Linked DNA regions of Homo sapiens: region 1 is linked to region 2. Evidence: promoter capture Hi-C in 16 types of primary human blood cells and fetal thymus (Javierre and others, 2016). All regions are on one chromosome and are shown on one strand. The core of a region is centred on a gene start or on the middle of the fragment in contact, and the rest is flanking DNA. Distances in the headings are between cores, read along the strand shown.

Evidence for each region. Contacts are between HindIII fragments. The CHiCAGO score rates a contact against its expected background, and 5 or more counts as called.
Region 1: a fragment that was not itself captured here is called in contact with the fragment with the promoter of ADAM10 in region 2 in 1 of 17 cell types (fetal thymus); the score reaches 5.9 in fetal thymus.

Annotation. Positions count from the first base shown.
Region 1 is chr15:56,244,236-56,250,803 of GRCh38, reverse strand. It overlaps LOC124903569 (laforin-like), which reads left to right and starts at 5,986. Exons shown (of 3, transcript XM_047433428.1): 1 at 5,986-6,070. The coding sequence starts at 5,986. It also overlaps a transcript of RFX7 not described here and a transcript of TEX9 not described here. RefSeq lists enhancers at 5,016-5,661, 5,900-5,949, 5,662-6,307, 6,308-6,568 and a silencer at 6,200-6,249. The HindIII fragment of the contact is 2,177 bases long and covers 2,901-5,077 here.
Region 2 is chr15:58,746,590-58,753,716 of GRCh38, reverse strand. It overlaps ADAM10 (ADAM metallopeptidase domain 10), which reads left to right and starts at 4,010. Exons shown (of 16, transcript NM_001110.4): 1 at 4,010-4,237. The coding sequence starts at 4,183. RefSeq lists enhancers at 3,391-3,570, 4,661-4,790, 4,242-4,877 and silencers at 3,641-3,930, 4,261-4,550. The HindIII fragment of the contact is 2,079 bases long and covers 3,207-5,285 here.

The DNA of each region.
Region 1 (6,568 bases), core at 2,740-5,239, 2.5 Mb after region 2:
AAGGTCTTAAGAGCAAAACTGAATTATTTTGTTTTTTTTTTTCCCTAAGGAAGAAGAAATTTCACCTGTGGGTTGCAGCATCCACTATGCAAGGCATTTTGGCCTTCCCTACAGATTTCAGACTTGCCAGCCTCACAATCACATAAGCCAATTCCTTTAAAATATGTAAACATACAAATATAAAATATATATCTCCTACTACTTGTTCTCTCGTAGAACCTCGCTTTGTACACAGTATGGAAGCACAAACTCCTCAGACTAGCTTGAATACACTCGGAATTTGGTACCCCATATAACCTTTATCATCAGCTGTTCACTCCAATTAGACCAGTCTTCTGTGTGTCTTGTCATTTGCATGCTCGTTTTCCTGCTTCTACTCACACTGCCTTTCCCTTCGGACTTGTCTCCATTCTTTCTCCCACCTTTATAAATCCTTCATTTTACTCACACTCTAGCTCCATCCCAAGTCCTCCACGCCACTTTTAACTTTAGCTCCTTTTGCTCTTTCTCTAAACTTCCTTAGCAGTTATTAGCTACGCCATTCACTGGTTTTTAATCTTATATATCTCACCTACCAGTGTCTTTTTTATATAGCATCCACCACTAGGAAGTATAAATTTGCAAGTACAAATTTGGGTGTGCAAGACATGTCACTATTCTTTAAATCAAATTAAATTTACCACAGACTTAAGTGATCTCAGCCTTAATTCTGCTGGAGTAGAAGGAAATCCAATCTCAGTTCTTACTGGGCTTTCCTCTCTTCCTAGTACTGCAGTAGGGTTTGAAAGACTTATGTTGAGCCTAGAAAATGGAAGATGGACTTTGACATCCTCACTGGCAATTCCTCCACTTATGGGCCAAGAGAGGCAAGGGAATCCAGCCTCCCTAATGGCATTGTGCATCCATATGAGGTTAGAGTATCTCCCTGGGGTACTCTTATTCTTACTACTGGAACCCCAATCTTTGATTTTCTACAGCTCATGGGAATTTTTTTTTCTGTAATTCCACCTGCCCATAGATGCTTCTTCTTTCCTCTTTTTTTTTTTTTTTTTTTTTTTTTTGAGACAGATCCTCACTGTGTCGCCCAGGCTGGAGTGCAGTGGCACAATCTCGACTCACTGCAACCTCCACCTCCCTGATTCAAGCAATTCTCTGCCTTAGCCTCAGCCTCCCAAGTAGCTGGGATTACAGGCACCTGCCATCATGCCCGGCTAATTTTTGTATTTTTAGTAGAAACGGGGTTTCACCATCTTCGCCAGGCTGGTCTTGAATTCCTGACCTTGTGATCCACCTGTCTCAGCGCCCCTTCCTTCCTTCCCTCCCTCCCTCCTTTCTTCCCTCCCTCCCTCCCTCTCTCTCTCTCCCCAGATGTGCTTACCTTTTTAACCCCCTAGCAACATCTCCTCAAGGAGCAACAAACTTGAAAGACAGATTGCTGGGTCCAATTCCAGAAATAACATTGACACTGCATTCTAAGGAGTCCTGTTCCAGGAGGCTTCATTTAAAATGTGAATGGTGCCCCCTGGAGTTGCCTAAGAGAGAGCTCTTGTCAGACAACTTTCTGCCTAGTAACACAAAGTTCCCTTGAAGCCTGCTTGGAATGGAAGGGAGGGAAAATATAAGGAGCATAAAACCCAAATAAATAGCTCAATAAATTATCCTGTCACACACCTTTTGTTTGTTTTTTGTGTTTTTATTTCACTTTTAAAAATATGTATGGGCTGACATGTGTAGTGTTCCAATTAGATTATGAGCTTCTTGAAAATGAGAACAATATTTTACTACTTATTTTTTAATCTTTCTAAGGTCCCAATATAGTAACTTGTACATAGCAGGTTCTCGAATGTGCCTTGAAAGGAATGGAGGAATGATCGACCTTGTGAATTATTGGTTAGGCCCCACCTGTTCAGACTGCACTGGCACTGACTTCCTCACTGTGGGATTGGCTCTGGTGTCTTTTCATTGTCACTTTTAGTGTTAAGTAAATAACTAAAACACTTTTAGTGTCACAATTTAGTGTTTTTCTTTATCTGCTTCTGTTCACAGCCACTCCTTTCCTGAATTTCTAAGATATCAAATTTCTACTTGGGACTTTTTGGCCCAAGTTAAAGTAAACACTTCCTTTAAAATGTATGTAGATGATATTAACTTGAACCTTCTTTAATGTAAAAGAATTGAAAGTTACAACATAAACATGTATATGGTACCAACAGTGGAAAATTTCTAAGTGAAATCAAAGCGGGATCTAGCATTTGTTTCATCATACTACTCACTTGAAGAGCTGAGTATATTATGTGAACTTTATCCCACTAATCCTTAGAGATAAGCAAAGGTACTTGAAAGAATGACTTGTACAGATAGGGTCACATAGCCAGGTAGTGACAGTGTTAACAGTCTGCTGCCTTGACAGTATTTGAATAGTTAGGCTACTTAGCCTTAACACTGGGCTATACATTGTTTTAATGACATAATGACATATTTGTGCTCTAACAGAAGAATTCACATTTTCACAGCATACTTACATTAGCACTCTTGGTATTGAGAACATGTATCAAAATTTGCCAATATTAACTTAGTTCTGAACCCCCCAACTTCCCTCTTCTGTAATCTTGCTGCTGCTTTTATTTTTCTCCTCTTCACTCCCTCCCACATCCTCTTCTCTCTAATGCTATTAAAGACTGAAAGAAAGCTCAATCACATTACAGCATTGAAACTTATATATATATAAGCCCTCCTAGGACTACTTGCACTTTGAAAGACAACAGCTTAGCTGAAAGAAATTATCCATCACTTTCTGCTATCAAGGAAGAATTGGGAGAGGTGAAAAGCCTTCTTTCCTTGTTCTCTTAAATAACATGTAGGTCATTAAACTCTACTTTCAGCTTCTAGAGGAGAAAGCTTGCAATGGAAAAAGACAGAGGAAGTAATGATCAGGGGAAAAGAGGATGAGAGGAGTATTTTATTTTTATATTCAAGTTGGGAAAGAAGGAGAACAGGGTAGAACTTTACCTTTTCCATATCTGGTAAACCACCATACTTTGTGGAAGTGAAATGTATACTTTCAGCACTTAATCAGTATGTACCAATAATGAAACCGACTTTCAGGCCTTCCTTTGATAGAACGATCCTAACTATAATGCAAAGTAACATTTTGTAAAGTGGGTTTTTGTCTCTCTCTCCTTCTTTTCCCTCGCCTATACTACTTTAGGATCTGATCACAGAGTCAACACCGTGCTATGCATTATTCCTTCAGCAAACAGTACCCTTTCATGGCTTCACACCAGTGCTCATGTTACTCCCTTTATCTGAAATCATCTTCCCTCTGTTGCTCTGCCTACTCAACTCCTATTCATCCAACAAGACCCAATTAAAATGCCAGCCATGATGCCTTCTCCAGTTCTTCTACCCTGAGCAAGACCAATCCCTCCCTCCATTATGACTCCACAACACTAGTGGATATGTTTATAACTCATCATCTTATATATGTTAATATGTTGCTCTACTTCACAAAAATGTAAACTACTTCAAGTTGGGGCCAGGTCTTATTTATTCATATTTTCCGTGCCCAATACTGCTATATATCAGGCATGATAAATGTATATACTACAGTCTGGACAGTATAAAATGTTTACAGTTTCATAAAGGAGACAAGGTTTACAGACACAAGAGAGCAAGACAATATAATGGATTGGGCTAGGAAAATGAGGGTTAGTTAACTACTAAATTCCACAAATATTTATTAAATAGTCAGGAGTCAGGAATTATGTCCTGGGACTACTAGGATAAATAAAATAGTCATTTCCTTTGAGGTGCTGACAATCCATCTTGTAGATACTCTCTAAATGTGGACAACACTTCCCTGGTTTACCTATAACTTTTCATGTTTTCCTTATAGCAACCCTCTGATGTACATCATTATTTTCATTTTTATAGAGATCGAAACAGAGGGTTTGAATTCCCAGGTCTTCTGACTCCAAGGCCAGGTTTTTCTAACCCACTACATCAGTGTTCCTCAAAATTTTCCTCTGGTGTACACTTTCCCAGTAGAGAATAAACTTAGGCTCCTCAGGGTTGGGTAATACTTGTGTGTTATCTTAAAAAGTCATGCTTACTACAATGTCTTACCTTATTTACCAGAGAGTCAAAATGATGCTCAGAGAAAATGAGCCACATTGATTCTGGGTCCTTGAGGGTCCTCAGTACAGGGTTGCACAATCAAAGGAACCCACATAATATGAGAAGCACATGGCTACACTCCTGCCTTTATTCAGGGTCCCTGGGTTTGGCTTGAGTCCACACTCAAAATTTTGGGTAACTTCATCAGATTTCTTAATGTCATGATTTTATTCACAGTCTTCTCTGAAGACTGGAACAAAACACCCACTGTACTCCCAGATGTTAAGTGAGTAGTGAGGGCTGCCCCTTTCCTCCCTGAAAGGGTATCTCACTCTGGCAATAAGGTCTCCTCAGTCTGATACTCTCTGCCACCCCTCCCATTGCTGGTCTCCTTCAACTCCCTGTAGGTCCTGGAAGGCCGGAAAAGGTTTACCACCACACTCCGGTCAGCACCGCCGCTAGAGGGCAGCCCGCGGCTGCAGCTTCGTGAGCCCTCTAGTGGCTGCTGGGGTGACCTGGCTCTTTTATGGAACCCATTAAAAACTCTCAGAAGTTGCACTTGGGAAGCCAGCCTGTGTGACACCCGGTAGCGAACTTTTTATAAAACGTCTTGGTTCTCGGCTTCCTTTTCTTAAGGCCTTTGGCAGACCTTAGATACGTTACCCCCTCGATGACTCTCCCACTTCCTAAGGATCTCCCCCTCCCAGGGTGTTGCAACTTGGAGCCATCATTCTCTCTTGGCAAGGCAAAAAATTAGAACCTTGGGGAACTTGGCAACTTTCCTCAACGTGATATAGGGCATACACACACACACGTATATATATACCTACATTCAAGATTTTTCAGCGTAATTCCAGTTTCAGCATAGCTTGCAGGCTCTGGAATTAAACTTCCAGGACTCAAATTTTGGCTCCTGCATTTACTAATTGGGTAATTTTAAGAATGTTAATTAACCTAAGCTTCCATTTCATCTGTAACAGAGGGAGACTAATAATACCTACATTATACACTCTTGGGGAGGAATAACTATGATAATGTATGGAAAGTGCTAGTCTGGCACACAAAGTGTTCAACAAACATTAGCTATTTTTATCCTTCAAAGCTTCTGTCTAGTGCACACCATGTCTATCAATTAGGTCCACAAAAATACTGTCTTTACACACCCACATGAAGATATGTATGCAAAATGAATGTCGTAAACCACCTATAGTTTCCTAAAGTGGCTAAGCTAATAGAGACCTTAGAGTATGGAAAAGGGGGCTCATTTGTGTGATGCAACTCGTGCAATGGGTAGTTGGAGCACAGCGTAATCCAAGAGGCCCCGGGGGCGGGGGGGCGGCTTATTTTGCACACAGGTGTTCTTCCTCCCTGCACCCCCACCCTCAACCCTCACCACGTGCAAGCATTCAGTGTGAGTCTGGGCCTTAAGTCTGTGGGCCAGGAGAGAGGGCACAGTGGACAAAAGCAAGAGGGTTTCAGGCCAAGGCAGGGAACTGAGAACTCAAAGGCCAGGCAACCCAAGCCAATCAGATTCACCATCCACTAGGAGTCTAAAAGGTGGCAGAGCCCCACAGCCCAAAGTCCACACACAGCAGGAAAGTGGCCAGAGGATCTAACAGGTAGAAACCTGATAGACACTCTATCAGAAAAGTTAAAGCTGAAGGGCTCATAACACCCACGGGCCCAAAGAAAGGTCAGTGTGAGCTGAACAGCTGTTCCATTTGGTGCCAGAGGCCTTGGCTGTTGTATTCTACATCCACGCAGCCTCCCTGATCAGCCCCACCTAGAAAAGCCAATTCTTCTGCTCTTAAAGGAGACTGACTTATTTGTGGCAAAGCTATCATTTAGGTATGAATGGGAAGGGGGGGAATGGTGCGGAGTCTGCGGGGGGAGGGCGGGTGTTCAACGGGCTCCAAAGGAAGGAGCTCGTGGCTGACGCCTGAGCCTCCATGTTGTGAGTACTACATGCGTTTCTTTCAGAGGCAGGCAGTGGCCTTGGCTGCAGGGACCCTGACAAGCCGCGACTTGAGCTATGCTTTAGAGCCTGGGTGGAATTGGGAGCGGTATAAAGGAGGGAGGGCATTCCTGGAAAGGGGGTGGGGTGGGGTGGGGAGGTGGAGGGGAACAGCATGAGCAAAGGCACGAAGGAAGAATGAATCTGCTGCGCGTTGAGGATGGCATGGAGACTTCCCTGATTGGAGCCGGGAGTTCTTGCAGGGGGATGGAGGCCGCTATGATTGGATAGTTAAAGTGGGGCCAGATTTGGAGGGCTTTGAATGCCCGACCGAGGAGCACTCAACCCAGCTCCTGACTCGCGATTTCCGTTCAAGACCGAATTACCTAAAGGGTGGTTAATTCCAACGGGTGTTCTTCTTTGGGGGCTTCTGAAAAGTCAGTTTATCGTCTTACCTGCTTCAGTTCTCTTCATTTACTCAGGGAGGAAGTAATCCTC
Region 2 (7,127 bases), core at 2,761-5,260:
TGCCCAGGCTAAAATGATTCCAGGTTTCTGGGATAGTGGTAGTGCCAGTATCAGAGATAAGAAGTTAAATATATTGAGTTTGGCATGACAGTGGGACATCCAGCAGGCAGTTTAGTAGAATTTGGAAATTCACAATGTAATTGTTGAAATGTTTACCAGCATTGGCCTTCGGTCTGTGCAACAAGCATTCTCCTCTAGTATTACTTGTCTATTACACTGTATAATATATGAGCATTTGCTTAAAAGCTGAATTTCCCATTACTAAAACTTGAGGATAACTTTTATTATACTGGTAATATCAAAACTGTATTGTTCCTGAGGAAATAATGCTATTAAAATAATTACGGCTTTCAAGTGGATGTTTGAGTGTTCATGCAGTGACCATAATAGTTACATTTTTTTTACTTAATAGTTACATAGCAATTATTATATTCCAGGTCTATTAACTAATATTAGAAGATAATTAGTTAAAATTATTAGTTAAATTAGTTAAAAGTAACTAATAACAGATATTAACTAATTTAAATGTAATCATCAAAACAATCTGCTGAGGCAAATATTTTTTCATTGTCATTTTACAAAAGAAATATTGAGGCCAGGTGCAGTGGCTCACACCTGTAATCCTGGCACTTTGAGGGGGCCAAGGTGGGCAGATCACTTGAGCCCAGGAGTCTGAAACCAGCCTGAGCAACATGGTGAAACCCCATCTCTACAAAAAATACAACAAATTAGCCCGGCGTGGGGCCCCCCCATCTGCAGTCCCAGCTACCTGGGAGGCTGAGGGGAAGGATCACCTCAGCCCTGGAGGCTGAGGCTACAGTGAGCTGTGGTTGCACCACTGCACCCCAGCCTGGGTGACAAAGTGAGTTCCTGTCTAAAAAAAAAAAAAAGAAAAGAAAAGAAAAGAAATATTGAGGTTAGAAGGCAAAAAAACTTGGCAAAAGTCACACGGTTTATAGATGGCAGAGCTAGGAGTGAAACCCAGGCAGTCTGTGATAGTGTAGATGCAGACCTTATACTTTAATATTTCATCAGTTTTCCATACATTTGCAAAATATCAATAATGAATTAAGTTAAAATAGTAGCCCAAACTTGTAACACTGGAATACCATTCATTATCATGCTGGTATGTAATGCCATTCGTGCATGCTGGTATGTAATGCCATTCGTGCTTGACAAATAAAAAAAATACAGTTTTTCTTTTTTTTTGAGACAAGGTCTGTCTGTGTTACTCAGGCTGGAGTGCAGTGGTGTGATCACAGCTCAATGCAACCTCAACCTCCAGGGTTCAAACAGTCCTCCCATCTCGGCCTCCCGAGTACCTGGGACTACAAGTGCATACCACTGCACTGGCTATTTGATTTTTATTTTTAATTAATTAATTAATTAATTTTTTTGAGACAGAGTCTTGCCCTGTCTCCCAGGCTGGAGTGCAGTGGCGCCATCTCGACTCACTGCAACCTCCGCCTCCTAGGTTCAAGTGATTCTCCTGCCTTAGCCTCCTGAGTAGCTGGGATTACTTGCTTCAGCCTCCAGAATAGCTGGGATTACAGGCACAGGCCACCACGCCCGGCTTTTTTTTTTTTCCTAGCTCTGTCGCTCAGGCTGGAGTGCAGTGGCGCGACCTCGGCTCACTGCAAGCTCTGCGTCCCGGGTTCACGCCATTCTCCTGCCTCAGCCTCCCGAGTAGCTGGGACTACAGGCGCCCGCCATCACGCCTGGCTAATTTTTGTATTTTTAGCAGAGACGGAGTTTCACCATGTCGGCCAGGCTGGTCTCAAACTCCTGACCTCAAGTGATCTGCGGACCTTGGCCTCCCAAAGTGCTGGGATTACAGCTGTGAGCCCCGTGGCTGGCCAAAATAAATACATTTTAAAAATTAAAAAAAAAAATACAGTCTTTATAAATGTAATTTTCAGTAATCATCTTAGTAATGCAAAATATGGCTTTGGAGTTTTTTCCAGTTGAATTTTAAGGGAAAGTGCCATTTGCCTCTAATCACTGGAATTCATTATAAAAATACTGTGCAACAGAAAACATGCTATAAGGTGGTTTAAGAGCTGGAAAATAAAAATATCATTTGTTGACAGCACTACCACAAGAGATTAGTAAAAAGCACAGGTGATATGAGATGTAATGTCTGCAGGTAACTATTTCCTAAGACTGAATATTTTAATGAAGGAAAAAAAAACCATTCGTGAGATTCTGCCATCCTTTGATGATTCCATGTATCTCATTATAAATGGATACAATTATGATGGTTTTGAAACGTCCGTTTTTGAGCCTATTAATGTTGCAGCAAAACTAGAATCATTCATTTCTCAAACTGAGAATTAAAGAAGACTCTTATGGCCAGGCTCGGTGGCTCCCACCTGTAATCCCAGCACTTTGGGAGGCTGGCGGGCGGATCACCTGAGGTTGGGAGTTCGAGACCAGCCTAACCAACATGGTGAGACCCCGTCTCTATTAAAAATACAAAAAATTTGCTGGGCGTGGTGGTGCATGCCTGTAATCTCAGCAACTTGGGAGGCTGAGGCAGGAGAATCGCTTGAACCTGGGAGGCAGAGGTTGCGGTGAGTCGAGATCACACCATTGCACCCCAGCCTGGGCAACGAGAGCGAAACTCCGTCTCAAAAAAAAAAAAATTCTCTTCACTTATGTTAATGGTAATAAATGGTATAAAATATACAGGTAACAGTATAGGAATTCCAGTTTATTACAGTATCAATAACATTAAGGCCGAGCGCAGTGGCTCACGCCTGTAATCCCAGCACTTGTGGGAGGCCGAGGCGGGAGGATCGCTTGAGTTGGAGGTTACAGTGAGCTATGATCACACCACTGCACTTCAGCCTGGCGAGACAGCGGATACCTTGTCTTTAGAAAGCAAAACAAAACAATTTACACACACACACACACACACACACTCTCCCTAATTCGGCTTGAGTTGGAGGTTACAGTGAGCTATGATCACACCACTGCACTTCAGCCTGGCGAGACAGCGGAGACCTTGTCTTTAGAAAGCAAAACAAAACAATTTACACATACACACACACACACACGCACACACACACTCTCCCTAATTCGGCCTACTCAAGCACGATACCAAATAGATGAAGAATATCTAATTAAATGGCCATAAAAAGTTCTAGTTCATGACATCCAAGTTTAAAGAATCAAAATGAGTTACGAGAAAACAAACACAAGCTTTAAGAAGTTGGGGAGAAGATGTGCGTGGATTCGCTTCAAAGATGTGACAGAGAGAAAAGAGGACATTTTCTGGACTGGAGATTCAAGACAGTCTGGTTCAGGTTGCATGCTTTTGCAAAGGCTAAAGCCTTAGTCTGTGACATAAATTTGTAAAGAGCTCGGAAAATTACATCTCGGACATGGTGTCTTTTTTTCCTGCTGCTTGAAGGTCTTTGCATTTATGTTCGCATCACTGGGGCAGCTGCCGCTATAATTACTGCTTGTTGGGACTTTTTGTTTACTTGGTAGCTGTGGTGCACCAAGAGAGGCAGAAAAAGAAGAAAAAAAACCTCTGTTACTTGTGACGTTAAGAAGTCGAAAGCAGCCCTGCTTACATCTTCCACGGACCATTTTAGCCCAAGGGAAGGTCCTCAGCAGCTCTAACACGTAGCGGAGCACTATCTCCGCGTAGGAGCGCTCCCGCCCCGGGGCGGGACCAGGACAAACCCCGCCTCCCAAGCCCAATCCCAGCTCTCCGCCGGCGGACAGGAAGCGGCGGCAGGCCTAGCAGCACGGGAACCGTCCCCCGCGCGCATGCGCGCGCCCCTGAAGCGCCTGGGGGACGGGTAGGGGCGGGAGGTAGGGGCGCGGCTCCGCGTGCCAGTTGGGTGCCCGCGCGTCACGTGGTGAGGAAGGAGGCGGAGGTCTGAGTTTCGAAGGAGGGGGGGAGAGAAGAGGGAACGAGCAAGGGAAGGAAAGCGGGGAAAGGAGGAAGGAAACGAACGAGGGGGAGGGAGGTCCCTGTTTTGGAGGAGCTAGGAGCGTTGCCGGCCCCTGAAGTGGAGCGAGAGGGAGGTGCTTCGCCGTTTCTCCTGCCAGGGGAGGTCCCGGCTTCCCGTGGAGGCTCCGGACCAAGCCCCTTCAGCTTCTCCCTCCGGATCGATGTGCTGCTGTTAACCCGTGAGGAGGCGGCGGCGGCGGCAGCGGCAGCGGAAGATGGTGTTGCTGAGAGTGTTAATTCTGCTCCTCTCCTGGGCGGCGGGGATGGGAGGTGAGGCACGACTGCGAGCGCCGGGGGCGCCGCGACCACGGCGGAGCGGCGGCCGGGCCGAGCGGAGCCCAGTCGCGCCTCGCGGCGTGCGCGTCAGTCAGCCCAGCCGGCCAGCGGCGCCACTCTGGCGGGCCGCGCTCCCCGCTCCCTATTGTCCCCCGCGCCCCGACCGCTTTCCCTTCGGTGGCGGGCCGAGGAGGCTCCCAAGCCTCCGGCGAGGCCTTCCCCGCCCCCCACCGCCCTGGCGGCCCCGGGAGGCGGGGGTCGCCTCCCAGAGAAGCGAAGTCGGGGCATCCGCGTCGCCTGGTGAGAGCGGTGGAACCCAGGCTGGTGGCTGCATCCCTCCAGTCTGCTCGGCGGGCGCCGGTGCAGGCAGCCGCAGCGAGGCTGGCGGTCTCGCCGTCCTCGTTCAGCGCTCATCCTGCTCACCATTCCTCCCCCAGCCCCTGCCCGGTGGCGGATTCCGAAGTCCTCTCCGCCGCCGAGACCCGCCGCGCAGACTCGTGGGAAGTTGTGTTGTTTGCAGCTGGGCTCGTGTATTGTTCTTTACCCGGCGCGCCGGTCCTGACCGACCCCATTCTGCAGAGGGGCCGCCCGTGGAGTGGCAGCAGTCATCACCCGCTTATCTGAGACTAGTGGCCTCGGTTCTTCCTGTGTCCTGTGTTTGGAGAGAGATCACAGGAGGGTGTGTTGGTGTTCTTGAAAACATTCTGTCGCCCAGGGGAAAGGGTTTGGTCGGGAGAAGGGTAAACCATTTGGGGATGTTCTTTGATTTGTAGGCTGGATTGGGTCTCTTAGAGTAGAAGTTCGGTCCCTGGGTGACCCAACTTGAAGAGTTTCGTTAAACTTTCAGGTGGAGTAGATGTACAGTGTAGTTAGTGGATTGTCAAAACAGTGCCCCCTCCCCCCTGCACATGAAAGTCAAATTTGCTAAAAGCATGTCATTTCTTGTTTCGGGTTTTGAAGACAACGATTTTTATTTCCGGTGTGTTCTAGGACCAGCTGCATCATTTTATTCTTGCTTAAAGTGCTTTATTTTAGGTAAGCTTTTTGACTTGCCCCAGAGTAAACTTAAAAACCTCAAGGTGTGCCTAAAAGCAACGATTGAAAAAATTTGAGGAATGCTTTGGATGAGTGTCTGTAGCCTTTGATAATTTAGAAAATATCTATTTCATGTAATGTATTGTTTCTGTTTTTTTCTTTGCCACTTTGACTTATGACTGCAGGACCAAGTGTATTTCTGTCCTGTATTCTACCGAGTCCGAGGGTGGTACTGCGTAGGCAGACTTCTGTTATAGTTTGTAGTGTTCATTTTTTTGTTACACGTTTTATTTAATTTTTTTCAATCCAATTCATCAAGCAAGACACACATTATAGATTAAGAGCTGATAATAGATGTTTAGTTTTAAAAAGGATTATGTGCGGGAGACTCTCTGTTAGAGGAGCCTTTTTCATCTGACATTTGTTATTTCTGTTCTAAACGTGGCTTTCAACAAATCGTTTTCCTATCTTTTTTCACTTTTTGTGATTAAATTCAGGAGTTAAGACACTGTTCTCTATAAGGTAATAAAAAGTAAGACAAACACATGAGGCACTTTACTGAGTAGTAGTATACTAAATGTTCTTTTAAAAATAATGAAAACAGTAAGAAACTGATGTAGTCTTATATTTGAAGAAAAAACAATTGAATAACATGTTTGTGGGTTAAAACTCTTATACAAAAATTTTCTAAATTCATATTTCCAGAGTCCTTTATTGCATTAAGCATTGGTTAAAAGGCTAATTTTTGGTGTTTTTGTTAAGCAGAACTTTTTCAAAAAACATAAGACAAGTTTTATTAGTTTTATTTTAAAATTAGTATCAAGATTCTAGCTTTTGGGTACTTGGAGATACTTGTAATTTTATTGTAACTATGGGGTATTTTTATCTACTAATCTGAGCTATTTTTGGTCACTTGTAAGATCTTTGTATGATGATTTGTAGACTTCAGCACATTGAGATTGAATGTATTTGTTTTAGCATATGAGAGAAAGGAGAAATTTGTGTAGATTAGAAGTTGTGGTGGAAATTTAACTTAAAATGTAAATCATTTTCAGGTAGTTAATAAATCCTTTTTGTTGCTTCCACCTCCCCAATTTGTCAGTCACTGTTGTGTGTGAAATTTTTCTTGCTCTGTATATTACTAGGATGGGAAGCTGGAAGGAATAATTAAAGTGTTTAGAATCATAAAACAAACTTTCCTAATGGTGTCCATTTCCAGCACAGCCCCATCCTATGTTGTAGTTGTAGGAGCAAACCATGTTTTTTTATTTTATTTTTAAAATTTAACTGGTGTGTTTGAGAGCACAAAAGGCATTTCAGCTGTAGCAGTAAATTCCATAATGTTTTGGTTTGATGAAATCATGCCCGAAATGAACTTCAGAGTATGATATGTCTCTTACATTTAAAAATCTGATGTAAGTGCTTAGCTTTGTACATTACTGCTCAATAGAAATAAGTTTTCTGGAAACTTGACCAGAGCTTTAAAGGTAGTAGAGCTTAAGCAGTTAAACTTTCTCTGACTCTGAGTCGGAATCTACCAGCAAATAAGAATTTAATGAAAGAGACAGACTAATTTTGTCTTTATCCTTAAGGATCTCTGACTCTTCATCTTTTTAAAACTTCAGTTTGAGTCCAGTTAACTCCATCATCTTTTTTAAAAAATGTTTTATTTTGTTTATTTATTTTAAAAAGTAGTGATGGGGTCTTAATACGTTGCCCAGGCTGGTCTCAAACTCCTCGTCCCTAGCGACCCACCTACCTTGGCTTCCCAAAGTGCTGGGATTGCAGGCATGAGCCACCCTGACTGGCCAATTCCTTGTCTTAAGACATTTTTCTTAACAAGAAAAAT